2 separate regions of the Homo sapiens genome follow, and region 1 is linked to region 2. The links are contacts of gene promoters, found by promoter capture Hi-C in blood cells and fetal thymus (Javierre and others, 2016). All regions are on one chromosome and are shown on one strand. The core of a region is centred on a gene start or on the middle of the fragment in contact, and the rest is flanking DNA. Distances in the headings are between cores, read along the strand shown. Region 1 overlaps LOC105371348 (a long non-coding RNA gene). Region 2 holds the start of CTRB2 (chymotrypsinogen B2).

Evidence for each region. Contacts are between HindIII fragments. The CHiCAGO score rates a contact against its expected background, and 5 or more counts as called.
Region 1: a contact is called between a fragment that was not itself captured here and the fragment with the promoter of CTRB2 in region 2, in 1 of 17 cell types (naive B cells). The highest score is 5.2, in naive B cells.

Annotation. Positions count from the first base shown.
Region 1 is chr16:75,790,233-75,796,506 of GRCh38, reverse strand. All of the region lies in intron 2 of LOC105371348 (a long non-coding RNA gene), which reads right to left. Among named protein-coding and RNA genes, the nearest start is that of CPHXL, 67 kb to the right of the region's middle. The HindIII fragment of the contact is 464 bases long and covers 2,204-2,667 here.
Region 2 is chr16:75,202,789-75,208,427 of GRCh38, reverse strand. It overlaps CTRB2 (chymotrypsinogen B2), which reads left to right and starts at 1,267. Exons shown (of 7, transcript NM_001025200.4): 1 at 1,267-1,338; 2 at 2,235-2,338; 3 at 2,436-2,515; 4 at 2,608-2,686; 5 at 2,915-3,095; 6 at 3,522-3,655; 7 at 4,106-4,325. The coding sequence starts at 1,287. The coding sequence ends at 4,267. RefSeq lists a silencer at 1,458-1,677. The HindIII fragment of the contact is 10,617 bases long and covers 1-5,639 here.

The sequences.
Region 1 (6,274 bases), core at 1,186-3,685, 590 kb before region 2:
TATCATATCACCCCAGTTAAAAAAGCTTATGTCCAAAACATAGGCAATAACAAATAACAGAGAGGATAAGGAGAAACGGGAACCCTCGTACACTGTTGGTGGGAATGTAAATTATGGAACCACTATGGAGAACAATTTGAAGGTTCTCAAAAAAAACTAAATATAGAACTACCATACGACTCAACCATCCCATCCTAAGTACACAGCCAAAAGAAAGGAAATCAGTATATCCAAGAGATATCTGCACTTCCATGTTTTTTCCAACACTGTTCACAATAGCCAAGATCTGGAAGCAGCCTAAGTGTCCATCAACAGACAAATGGATAAAGAAAATATGGTACATGTACACAATGGAGTACTATTCAGCCACAAAAAATAATAGGATCTTGTCGTTTGCAACAACATGGATGGAACTGGAGGTCATTATGCTAAGCGAAATAAGTCAAGCACAGAAAGACTAACTTCACATGTTCTCACTTATTTGTGGGACTTAAAAATTGAAACAATTGTGCCAGGCGCGGTGGCTCAAGCCTGTAATCGCAGCACTTTGGGAGGCCAAGGTGGGCGGATCACGAGGTCAGGAGATCGAGACCATCCTGGCTAACACGGTGAAACCCCGTCTCTACTAAAAATACAAAAAATTAGCCGGGCACGGTGGCGGGCACCTGTAGTCCCAGCTACTCAGGAGGCTGAGGTAGGAGAATGGCGTGAACCCGGGAGGCAGAGCTTGCAGTGAGCCCAGATGGGGCCACTGCACTCCAGCCTGGGTGATAGAGCAAGACTCTGTCTCAAAAAAAAAAAAAAATTAAAATAATTGAACTCATGGAGATAGAGAGTAGAAGGATGGTTACCAGAGGCTAGGAAAGGTAGTGGGGGACAGGGTGGGGTAGTGGGTATGGTTAATGGGTACAAAAAATAGAAAGAATGAATAAGACCTAGTGTTTGCCAGCACAACAGGGTGACTATAGACAAAAAAGAATTTAATTGTACATTTTTAAATAACTAAAAAAGTATAATTGGATTGTTTGTAACACAAAGGAAAAATGCTTGAGGCAATGGATATCTCATTTTCCCTGATGCGATTATGACACATTGAATGCTTGTATCAAAATATCTCATATATTCCACAAATATTTATACCTCCTATGTACCCACAAAAATTTAAAATTTAAAAAAGACAAATAACCCAAATAAAAAAATGAGACAGAGTTCAAATGGACATTAGATGGATGGATGGATGGATGGATGGATAGATAGATAGATAGATAGATAGATAGATAGATATAGCAAATACTCAATTGAGAAACTGCTCAACATCCTTCCTTAGTCACTAGAGAAATAAAAATCAAAGCCACAATAAGGTACCCATTTATTTATTTATTTATTTTTTAATAAGGTACCCATTTATATCTACTAAAATGACTATCATTTTGAAAATGGAAAATAACAAGTGTTGTAAGGATGTAGAGAAGCTGGAACCCCTCATACATTGCAGGTGGAGAGGTAAAATTGCACAGCTGCTGTGAGAAACAGTTTGGCTATTATTCAAAAAGGTAAACAGAGTTACCATACGATTCAGCATTTCCACTCCTAGATATACTCAAGAGAAAGGAAAACATGTGTTCATTCACACAAAAATTTGCACACATTCACAGTAGCCAAAAAGTGGAAACAAAACAAACGTCTATCAACTTATGAACACGTAAATAAAATGTAGGACACTTAGACAATAGCATAGTGTTCTGTTATTTAGAAACACGAAATGCTGATACATGCTACAACATAGATGAACCTTAAAAACATGAAGTGAAAGTAGCCACACATAAAGGAACACATACCATTTGACTCAGTTTAAATGAAAAGTCCAGAATAAACAAATCCTTAAAGACAGACAGCACAATCATGGCTTCCTCTTTTTGAGAGTGGGTGAAAATATTCCAGAACTTGATAGTCATGATGGTTGCACAACCTTACGAATCTATCCAAACCCACTGAATTGTACACTTTAAAATGGTGAATTTTATGGTGTGAATTATCTTCTGATTTTTAAAAAGACATACAATTAAACCAAATATTGCTACCGATTCCAAAAGCATGGGACAAACCAGCCATATCACTAATGTGGCTTCTCTGATTTTGACACATATTTTCCATCTTTCAAGAATCCAATACTGTTGCCGATAAAGCATTTTCATTTTAAGCTTCATAATAAGCCGGTCCATTGTTGTCATCATTCCTCGTCTGACATGTGATTTTATTTTATTTCCACAACATAGTGAATTTTGATAGATCACAGTAATTTCAATCCATGAGGATCTTTCAACTGTAGGAGTGAATTAGAAAGATATTTTTATATTGCCTATTTGAGATAACAGGTCCTAGCACCATGCTTCAGGCAAAATACATCAAAAGAATGAACTGAAGGTTAAGTTTCCTTTTAGATCTCAATTTTTATAACATCACAAAAATTCTTGCCTGAAAGCAGCCAAATTATTCAACTGCAAGACGTTCTATATTCACCTCATTCAGCCTGAGGGAAAGAACAAAGTCAGTAACTGGAGACACCTCTAAGGTTGAGGTGCATTCATCTTCTCATTATGCTCTTATGAGCCTCCAATCCCTGAATACAACACCAATACACTCCGAGAGAAAATGCAAGTAAAAGCTTTTTGAAAAGCTTTCTATTATGTCGTATTTGCAAAGGTAATTCTCACGTGAAAAGAAGCAATAAGAAACTCAAGTAATGAAATTTAAATACCATGTAAAACAATTATTACCATTTTATCCTACCCAAATCAGTCAATTAAATGGAACTCTCTCTCTAAATTAGTTTTAGATAGCATTTAATCCCAATTTAATAAAAGAATTACTTTGTATATGTACTTGTTTCTGGGCAGAAAGTCTCTTGCTGTGATTATGAAATCTTCCAAAGGAAAGGCTAGTGAGCCCTTTGCCTCTAATGCTGTTTACTGGAGAGCAGTGTTTGCATTCTGTTTAAGGTGGCTCTGTGGGGAATCCAGAGGTGTTTATTCACTGAACTACCTAGAGATCCTTATTATAAAATGATTTCAAATATAAGGGAATCCACTGACATATTATCCAGGAGCAACTTTGATGACAAATTTATATTTGATCAGGTCCTTCTTGGCTTCCATCTGTTTTCCGTAGGGCCTGGTCCTGTGCTATGCAGACAGAGCCCCCTGGGGTTGTGCAACACTGTGGTACTGCTTAATAAATGCTTCTTGACATTGATGATGATGACAATGGGTGTGCCATCAGGTGCTATGATGCACGTTCATTTATGCACATGGTCAATGATTTTGTATTGATCCCTCCATTTGTGCCAGGTCCTATCTGGGCATTGTTGACACAATGATGAACAAGAAAGGCAAGACCCCTGACCTCAAGCAGCTTTACATTTTGGTGAAGGGAGACAGAAAATAAACACAGCAGAAGTGAGTAAGATCATTTCAGACACTGATAAATGCTGTGGAAACAATACAGTTGAATCACGAAAATGGAAGTGACGGGGCAGGACTATTTATTTACAATGGCTCACTGAAGTGCACAGAGGCAGCCAGCCCATCAGGCAGTCCTGCAGCTTCTAAGACCAGTGGAGCGCCTATGCTGAGAGCACCAGGAAAACATGGAAGAGTCCAGGAATAGATGTTTGAAGGCCACCTAAGGAATCAGTGTACCAATAAAAACATCCAACTCACATCGGGCTTACACCGGGGACTGCTTTTAAAAAGTCTCCCATTATACCTGGTGGCCGTTCCTTTACACACACAGTAGCTCTATCCTATTTCAGCTTTCAAAATGTAGTCAGCTAAAGACTGGCCATAGTTCTGATATTTCACTATGACATAAAAAACAATTTGGAGTTTGTCCGGAAGACAGAATTAAAGAACTGTGAATCCTGAAATATCCCACTGAACTGCTGCTAACACACTCACACTCAGAGGTAAGGAAAGGGATGTAATTTTCCAATCAACAAATTCACAAGGTCAATATGCAATTGCAGGGAGTGGGAGGTTAGCTGCAGATGGGTCCAGGTGTAAGTTATGTACAATCATGACTCCAAAGAAATCTATTTTAGAACTTTACATGATAGTAATTGTCAAATCTTCACTGAATTTGTGTTATGTCTTTTATGTAGTCAATGTGATTTTTTTCTTTTTTTTTCTTTTTTTTTTTGTTTTTTTTTGAGATGGAGTTTTGCTCTTGTTGCCCAGGCTGGAGTGCAATGGCTTGATGTCAGCTCACAGCAACCTCCACCTCCCAGGTTCAAGTGATTCTCCTGCCTCAGCCTCCCAAGTAGCTGGGATTGCAGGCGCCCGCCACCACACCCAGCAATTTTTGTATTTTTAGTAGAGATGGGGTTTCTCCATATTGGTGGAGGCTGGTCTCGAACTCCTGACCTCAAGTGATTTGCCCGCCTTGGCCTCCCAAAGTGCTGGGATTACAGACGTGAGCCACCGTGCCCCGCCTGTCAATGTGATTTTTATAAAGAGTAATTTATAATTTCCTGGAAGAAAGGTAACTGCAAAACTGAGGCAGACCATGGCACACTTCTGGGTACATTTGGGAAAGTCAGTTTCTTGAGTGAAGTGGCCATGATCATCTGGAAGACTAACCGGTGGGCAAAGAAACGGAGAGATGAATGCCAACTCCAGTCTTTTCAGCAACATCGACATCACTGGGGCAGATAACATAGGTCAAATGTTCCAGCGTACCTTTGTTCCTTATGTGTTGTTTTGGTTTTGCTCTTGGATTTTTCTCATATTGCATATTTGAGACCAACTTATTGTGTATTTGAGACCGACGCTAACAACAGCTAGATGGGCTCCACCTAAGGACAGCTGTCGCCTTCCTGTCCTGTCCTGTTCCCTCTTATCCATCTCAAAAATACAGTGTAGTTTCTCCTACCACCTTCCATCAAACTGTCTTCTGGCCTCTGCCCCACACTCTCTCTTCCGCTTTATTCCACTCACTGGTACTCCATTGTCGTAACTCAGGCGAGATGACAACATTTCCAGGCAGCTGTCTTCATCCTCTAAGCCTGGGTTGAGATTCCCAGTACAAGCCCTGTAGCATTTCCATACCTTCAGCGTAAGGGTTTCAGCTGGTCTGGCTGTTCCACCAGACCATGGGCTTCTAGAGGCCAAGGACAGGCTGCCTGAAGACTCCCAATAAACCTTGTTGAAGAAAAGGACTCACTAGTTTGTAGTATGCTCCCACCTGCAGTCAACTCAATCCACTGAATTCTCTTTTCCTTTTCCTTTTTTTTTTTTTAATTATTTTACTACACTGATATAAACCCGCTGGATTCTCTCTCTGCTCCTGTATTCAGTGAGTTGCAATATCACGCCACATGGCTTCTGGAAAACTCCACTGTACACTCATAGTAGAGTGAGAATCAAAAAGACAGGTAATATTTTGCTGTTATTATTAAAATAGTATTGACTTTGTAGAATCTCTGAAAGGATTGTGAGGCCCTGCAGGAGTCCCCACCCCACTTGGAGAACCACCGGTCTGGATGATTAGATGTCACACAGGTGCTTTTTCTCAGCCATTCACAAGGAGCACGTCATTTCCCGACTGTCCTCACGGAGCCACCGGGAAGGTCCATGTTAGTTCAGCCATCTTACCCTCTCTAACAATTAGGCAGTAGAATTAGTCATGAAATTGTCTCCTTGAGGTAATTCTAAACCAATATTACTTTTGAATGCAGAACTTTTTAAATAATAATTGTTGGCCGGGCGCGGTGGCTCACGCCTGTAATCCCAGCACTTTGGGAGGCCGAGGCGGGCGGATCACGAAGTCAGGAGATCGAGACCATCCTGGCTAACACGGTGAAACCCCGTCTCTACTAAAAATACAAAAAAATTAGCCGGGCGTGGTGGCAGGCGCCTGTAGTCCCAGCTACTCAGGAGGCTGAGGCAGGAGAATGGCGTGAACCCGGGAGGCGGAGCTTGCAGTGAGCCGAGATGGCGCCACCGCACTCCAGCCTGAGGCACAGAGCGAGACTCTGTCTCAAAAAATAATAATAATGATGATGTTTAATTTATTTGTTTTGCTAATTTACAAGTGTCTGAGATGAAATTTATTTTGTTCTTTTGAGCCCAACCTAATTATTTATCTAAGTCTAGCCGATCTTTGCTCCGATTCTTTACCGACGGGCAAGAACCTTGTATTTGGTCACTGTGTGCTCGCTGCTGCCCGCATCCTGTAGTCTCTCCCCGCCGCAGCCAGAGTCATCTAATGCGGGGTC
Region 2 (5,639 bases), core at 18-2,517:
TAAGCATCCTCAATTACATACAGGATCAGAGAGGGCAAGTCATTTGCCCACGGCTCCACAGCTGCCTGACCCCACAACCCGTGCTGTAAACACACATGCTGCAGGCATCAGTGTGGTGGAATTGAAAACAGCCACGAGGCACCTTTTCCTGTGCATTTTGGGGAACTTGCCCTCCATCTGGCAGCCTCAATCCAAAATTTCTCCCTCCCCCGTTTCCCAGTTGCTGAGAAAGGGCTCCACCACCCATGCTGCCACCCGCACGAGGAACCAGGTGTCCCCGCCCATGCTCTGCCCTGAGGCTCAGCCTCCATCAGTTCTCATCAGGGCGATGCCAGGCCCCCAGGCCGGGCCCTAGGCCCAGTCTTGCCCTCTGATGCCACCTGCTCAGCTCCAGGGCCCAGGTGTGCTGGCGCCTGTGTGCAGGGGTGGCCCAGTGTGAGGACAGCAGGTAGCTACCCCTCCCCTGTACACAGCCCAAGTGACCAACACAGATGTCGACTGGGCCTTCACTGAGCCTTCTTAGCCATCCCCTGGGACCCGGCGAGCACCCGCACCCCAGCCTCTGGCTACACCATGGGGCACAGGCCTGCTCCCCCAGCCTCTCCTCTACTTGGTCACATTGCCCATTGGGTTTTTTTCTTTTTTTTTGTTTTTTTTCCTTTTTTGAGACAGTCTCACTGTCACAAGGCTGGAGTGTAGTGGCGCAATCTCGTCTCACTGCAACCTCCGCCTCCCGGGTTCACACCATTCTCCTGCCTCAGCCTCCCAAGTAGCTGGGAATACAGGTGTGCGCCACCACGCCTGGCTAATTTTTTGTATTTTTAGTAGAGACGGAGTTTCACCATGTTGGCCAGGATGGTCTTGATCTCTTGACCTCGTGATCCATCCGCCTCAGCCTCCCAAAGTGCTGGGATTACAGGCGTGAGCCACCATGCCCGGCCTGCCCAGGGGTTTTCAAACCATGAAAAGATCAAGTGAATTCTTTGCAGAGCACAAGAGACTCAGCTGGGGCTCAAACCCGGGGATGCTGGACTCAGCCCCTGGAGGCCCCTGCCCAAGCCTGGGCCTGGAGGAGAAAGGCAATGGTCGAAGGCCACCTGGGTTAGCCCGGCTCAGCTAAGGCCACAGCTGCTGCCATCCCAGGCTTCCTGGCCAGCCCTGCACCGACACATCTTGCCCACTCCCAGGGAAGGGATTATCGCCCCAAGGTCTCCAGATAACAGCAGGCACACAGGGCTATAACGGGGACCGGCAGACAGGCGTCCTACACCCCTGCCAGCGGCACCATGGCTTTCCTCTGGCTCCTCTCCTGCTGGGCCCTCCTGGGTACCACCTTCGGTGAGTGCCAGGCCCTGCGGAGGCCGAAGGGTTTTCTCCTCTCACTCCCAGCCCCGAGGCCAGCAAGAGGCAGCAGGGTCCCAGCTCCCAGTTCAGCTGTGCACCGCAGTGTGGGCCTGGGCGAGTCACCGGCTCCATCTCTGCCGTGGGCGCTGAGAGGTCAATGCCTCCCTCCCAGGCTCAGCTGCCGCCTCTGAGCTCAGGAGATGGGGAGTCCCGCTCCCCTTCCTCACCCCCAGCAGACCTGAGGCTCTCAGGGGAGGAGGCGGGGGGAGGAGGCAGGTGTCCGGGGGCTGCCCTGAGGCCTTCGGGAAACCCCCAAACAGTCAGCGGCCCCAGCACAGGTTTGGGTGGTGAATGTGTGGGCAGCTGGGGCTTGGCACCGTTCAGTCCAAACCTTTCAGAACCTCGAGCCTCACCCTCTTAAACTCCTGCTCACGGAGCACTTCCCGGGTGCCAGGCGCAGAGCTGGCGCTCTGCCTGCTCACTCTACCAAACCTGTGAGGTCAGAAACAGCGTGATCCCCACTTTGCTGATGGGGACACTGAGTGGCTTAGCTGGGCAGGGAGGGAGCCAGGTTCAAACCCACAGAGTCTGGCCTCCCAGACTGAGCGCCGGGGCTGCCGCCCACCGCACGCTCCACCTGTGTGACTTCTCCGAACTGAGGTGGGGCCAACACCCCATTCCTCAGCAGCCCACAGCCCAGTTCATTGGACTCAGTTGTACCTGGGGATTCCAGCTCTGCGGAGAGGAGAGCCAGGGCCAACTTCTCAGAGAAGGGGATGTGGGAGCCAGTCTAGGTCCCAGAGACTGGAAAAGAGTTGGGAGTGAGAGGAGGCTGGAGCATTAGGACCTGGGTGGGTGGTACCCACCCCTCAGCCCACTCCCGCCCCCAGGCTGCGGGGTCCCCGCCATCCACCCTGTGCTCAGCGGCCTGTCCAGGATCGTGAATGGGGAGGACGCCGTCCCCGGCTCCTGGCCCTGGCAGGTGTCCCTGCAGGTGAGGGGGTTCTGCAAGGTGGGGGGCACCCTGGGTAGGGGCCAGGCTGGGGGTGCCCCCGGGTGGGAGGTGCTGACCCTCCCCATCTTGCTCACAGGACAAAACCGGCTTCCACTTCTGCGGGGGCTCCCTCATCAGCGAGGACTGGGTGGTCACCGCTGCCCACTGCGGGGTCAGGTGAGGACCGGGCAGCCTTGGGCTCCGCTTCCAGCACCGGTCGGGTGGGAGGGGAGCAGGGCATGTTCTCTCACCCACAACGCTCTGCCCAGGACCTCCGACGTGGTCGTGGCTGGGGAGTTTGACCAGGGCTCTGACGAGGAGAACATCCAGGTCCTGAAGATCGCCAAGGTACCCAGGCCCCGTGCAGCAGAGGGCAGGGCCGTGGGCACGGGGGGAGACCCCTCGGCTGCTTCAGGGACAGGCGCCCAGTGGGGCCGGGCCGGCCTCGTGATTCCCATTCCGGCCCTGGGGATGGACTGCTCCTTAACGGGCACCAGGGAAGGAGTCTGTCCTCGAAGCCTGCAGGTCCTGCCTCCTCCCAGGGCCTCACCCCGGCACTCTGGCCCCCACCCCCAGGTCTTCAAGAACCCCAAGTTCAGCATTCTGACCGTGAACAATGACATCACCCTGCTGAAGCTGGCCACACCTGCCCGCTTCTCCCAGACAGTGTCCGCCGTGTGCCTGCCCAGCGCCGACGACGACTTCCCCGCGGGGACACTGTGTGCCACCACAGGCTGGGGCAAGACCAAGTACAACGGTGAGGGGCCGCGGGGCTGCCTCTGGGGTCTGGGCTGCCTGGCCGTGGAGTCCCCCCGTGACCGTTTGGCTCTAAATTCCAACACGCTCCTAACTGCCCGTTCGTTATTGAAAATCTTCTGAATTTAAAATCCCCCAAATGCAAATAAAATCCAGGTCGGATCATGAGGAGCCTGCACAGGGAGCTTCTGAGCAGCGCCCGGCCGGGTGAGCCCTGCCCTGGCTGACCTGCCTGGAGTCGCAGCGTGGGGCTCCCACCCGGGCAGGGCCGAGGCCCCCTTGTCCCACAGGCGCTTCTGAGGCTCCAGGGGCCGTACCCAACATCGTGGTGATGGTGCAGGGTAGGGCAGGCGTGTCGGCCCCGGGTCTCTCCCTCCACTCTTGGCTGAGTGAGCCCAGGGGCCCTGACCCTCCTCCTGTCCTGCAGCCAACAAGACCCCTGACAAGCTGCAGCAGGCAGCCCTGCCCCTCCTGTCCAATGCCGAATGCAAGAAGTCCTGGGGCAGGAGGATCACCGACGTGATGATCTGTGCCGGGGCCAGTGGCGTCTCCTCCTGCATGGTGAGGCTGGCCCTGCCCAGGCCCTGGCCAGGCGAGCGGGGTGCAGGGGAGGTCTGGGCTTTCCACCCCTCTCTGCTCTCATCTACTAACCCCACACCCTCCTGGGGCCCAGTGAGGGCCAGGCCTTGGGGTCACAGCCGCCCATGAGGGTTCCTCCAGGCCATGCAGCTGAGGCTGCCCCTGGGGACTTCCTTGCAGCCCTGTGAGCTGGAGGTTTGGAGAGATGGATGGTGCCCCGGCTTAGAGAGGGAAGCCACCTGCCCCAGCTCCCTCCAAGAGTGCATGGCAGAGTGGGGGCTGCCATGTGAACCCAGATCTCAGGACCCCGGCACAGCCCCTATGCCCATGCTTACCATTTCTCCGCACCCCTCCCTAGACTCCACCAGGTCAGGGTCCCCTAGGCCCTGGCACCCCTTTCAGGCCTAGAGATACTTCCTCTCCTTCCTGCAGGGTGACTCTGGAGGCCCCCTGGTCTGCCAGAAGGACGGAGCCTGGACCCTGGTGGGCATTGTGTCCTGGGGCAGCCGCACCTGCTCTACCACCACGCCCGCTGTGTACGCCCGTGTCGCCAAGCTCATACCCTGGGTGCAGAAGATCCTGGCCGCCAACTGAGCCCGCAGCTCCTGCCACCCCTGCCTTAAGATTTCCCATTAAATGCATCTGTTTAGAAGCCCTGACTGCACTGCCTGTGTCTGTGTGGCCCAGGGGAGGTGGGCTTGAAGTTGTCCTTGTCACCCACAAAGGGGCAGCACTACCGTTCCCTTTCCAGGCTGCAGTTAATGTTGGCAACCCAGCCTTCTCAGGAAGCTGAGGTCTTCATATCTCTTGCCTGCTCACGGCTCCACCCTGGGTTTAGAATTTAGGCCCTACCTGCTGAAGCTAGCTTGACCCGTGGGGCTTTCTGGAAGGCAGCAGTCCTTGGCCAGGCTCTGCAATCCATAGCCCCCTGGAGTTGTCACTGGGACCACTGCTGACCCACACACTCCAGGTGCCTTTCTCTGCCTTTAGTCCCCCATGTCCAGTGCTCAGGAATGTGCATGCAAGCATCACCCCCTCCCCCGTCAGACCCCAGCCCCTCACACCTTCTGCATCCACTGCTGGGAGCTGGCGCCACTGTCCTCTCAGCTCCCACACTCTTCCCCGCCTCCCTCTCTGCATTTTCTGTGACCCTGCAGTTAGACTTTTTTTTTTTTTTTTTTTTTTTTTTTTGAGACAGAGTCTTGTTCTGCTGCCTAGGCTGGAGTGCAGTGACATCTTGGCTCACGGCAACCTCTGCCTCCTGGGTTCAAGCCATTCTTCTGCCTCAGCCTCTCAAGTAACTGGGATTATAGGCACTCACTACCACGCCCGGCTAATTGTTGTATTTTCAGTAGAGATGGGGTTTCACTATGTTGTTCAGACTGGTCTCAAATTCCTGACCTCAGGTGATCTGCCTGCCTCGGCCTCCGAAAGTGCTGGGATCATAGGCATGAGCCACCGCGCTCGGCCTCTGCAGTTAGATCTTGAGGCTTCCTCACGCTCAGCTTCCATCACTTCGGCCAGGCCATGGAGGGGGCCGGTTCCTTTCCCAGGATGTGTCCGGATTGGCGGTCTCTCTCTCTCTGGAAACTTTTAGTCTTTCCTTTAATGCAGTGAAAATTTTGTTGGAGAAAATTCTCCTGTTGTTCCACTGTCTGAAAAGATATTTATTCATTTTGATCTTGTAAAAGTTGCCTGTCACTCTGAAAAATAATTTTTGTTGAGACGTGCATGTGGGTATGTACATGGATATTTGGACTTGGAAGGTGTTTCAGTGTCTCCTGGCTTCTGTTGATTCGTGGAGAAGTCAGTGATTTACTGTTGCTTTTTAAAAAGGTTTAATGGATTTTCTTTGGATGCTTTTAAGATTTTACCTTTGATTTTCGTTGGTTTACCAAGATGCTTAGTTTCTTAGTTTCCTTGACTCAGCCTGCATGGGGTTCTTAGACAGTCTTTTTTAGAGTCT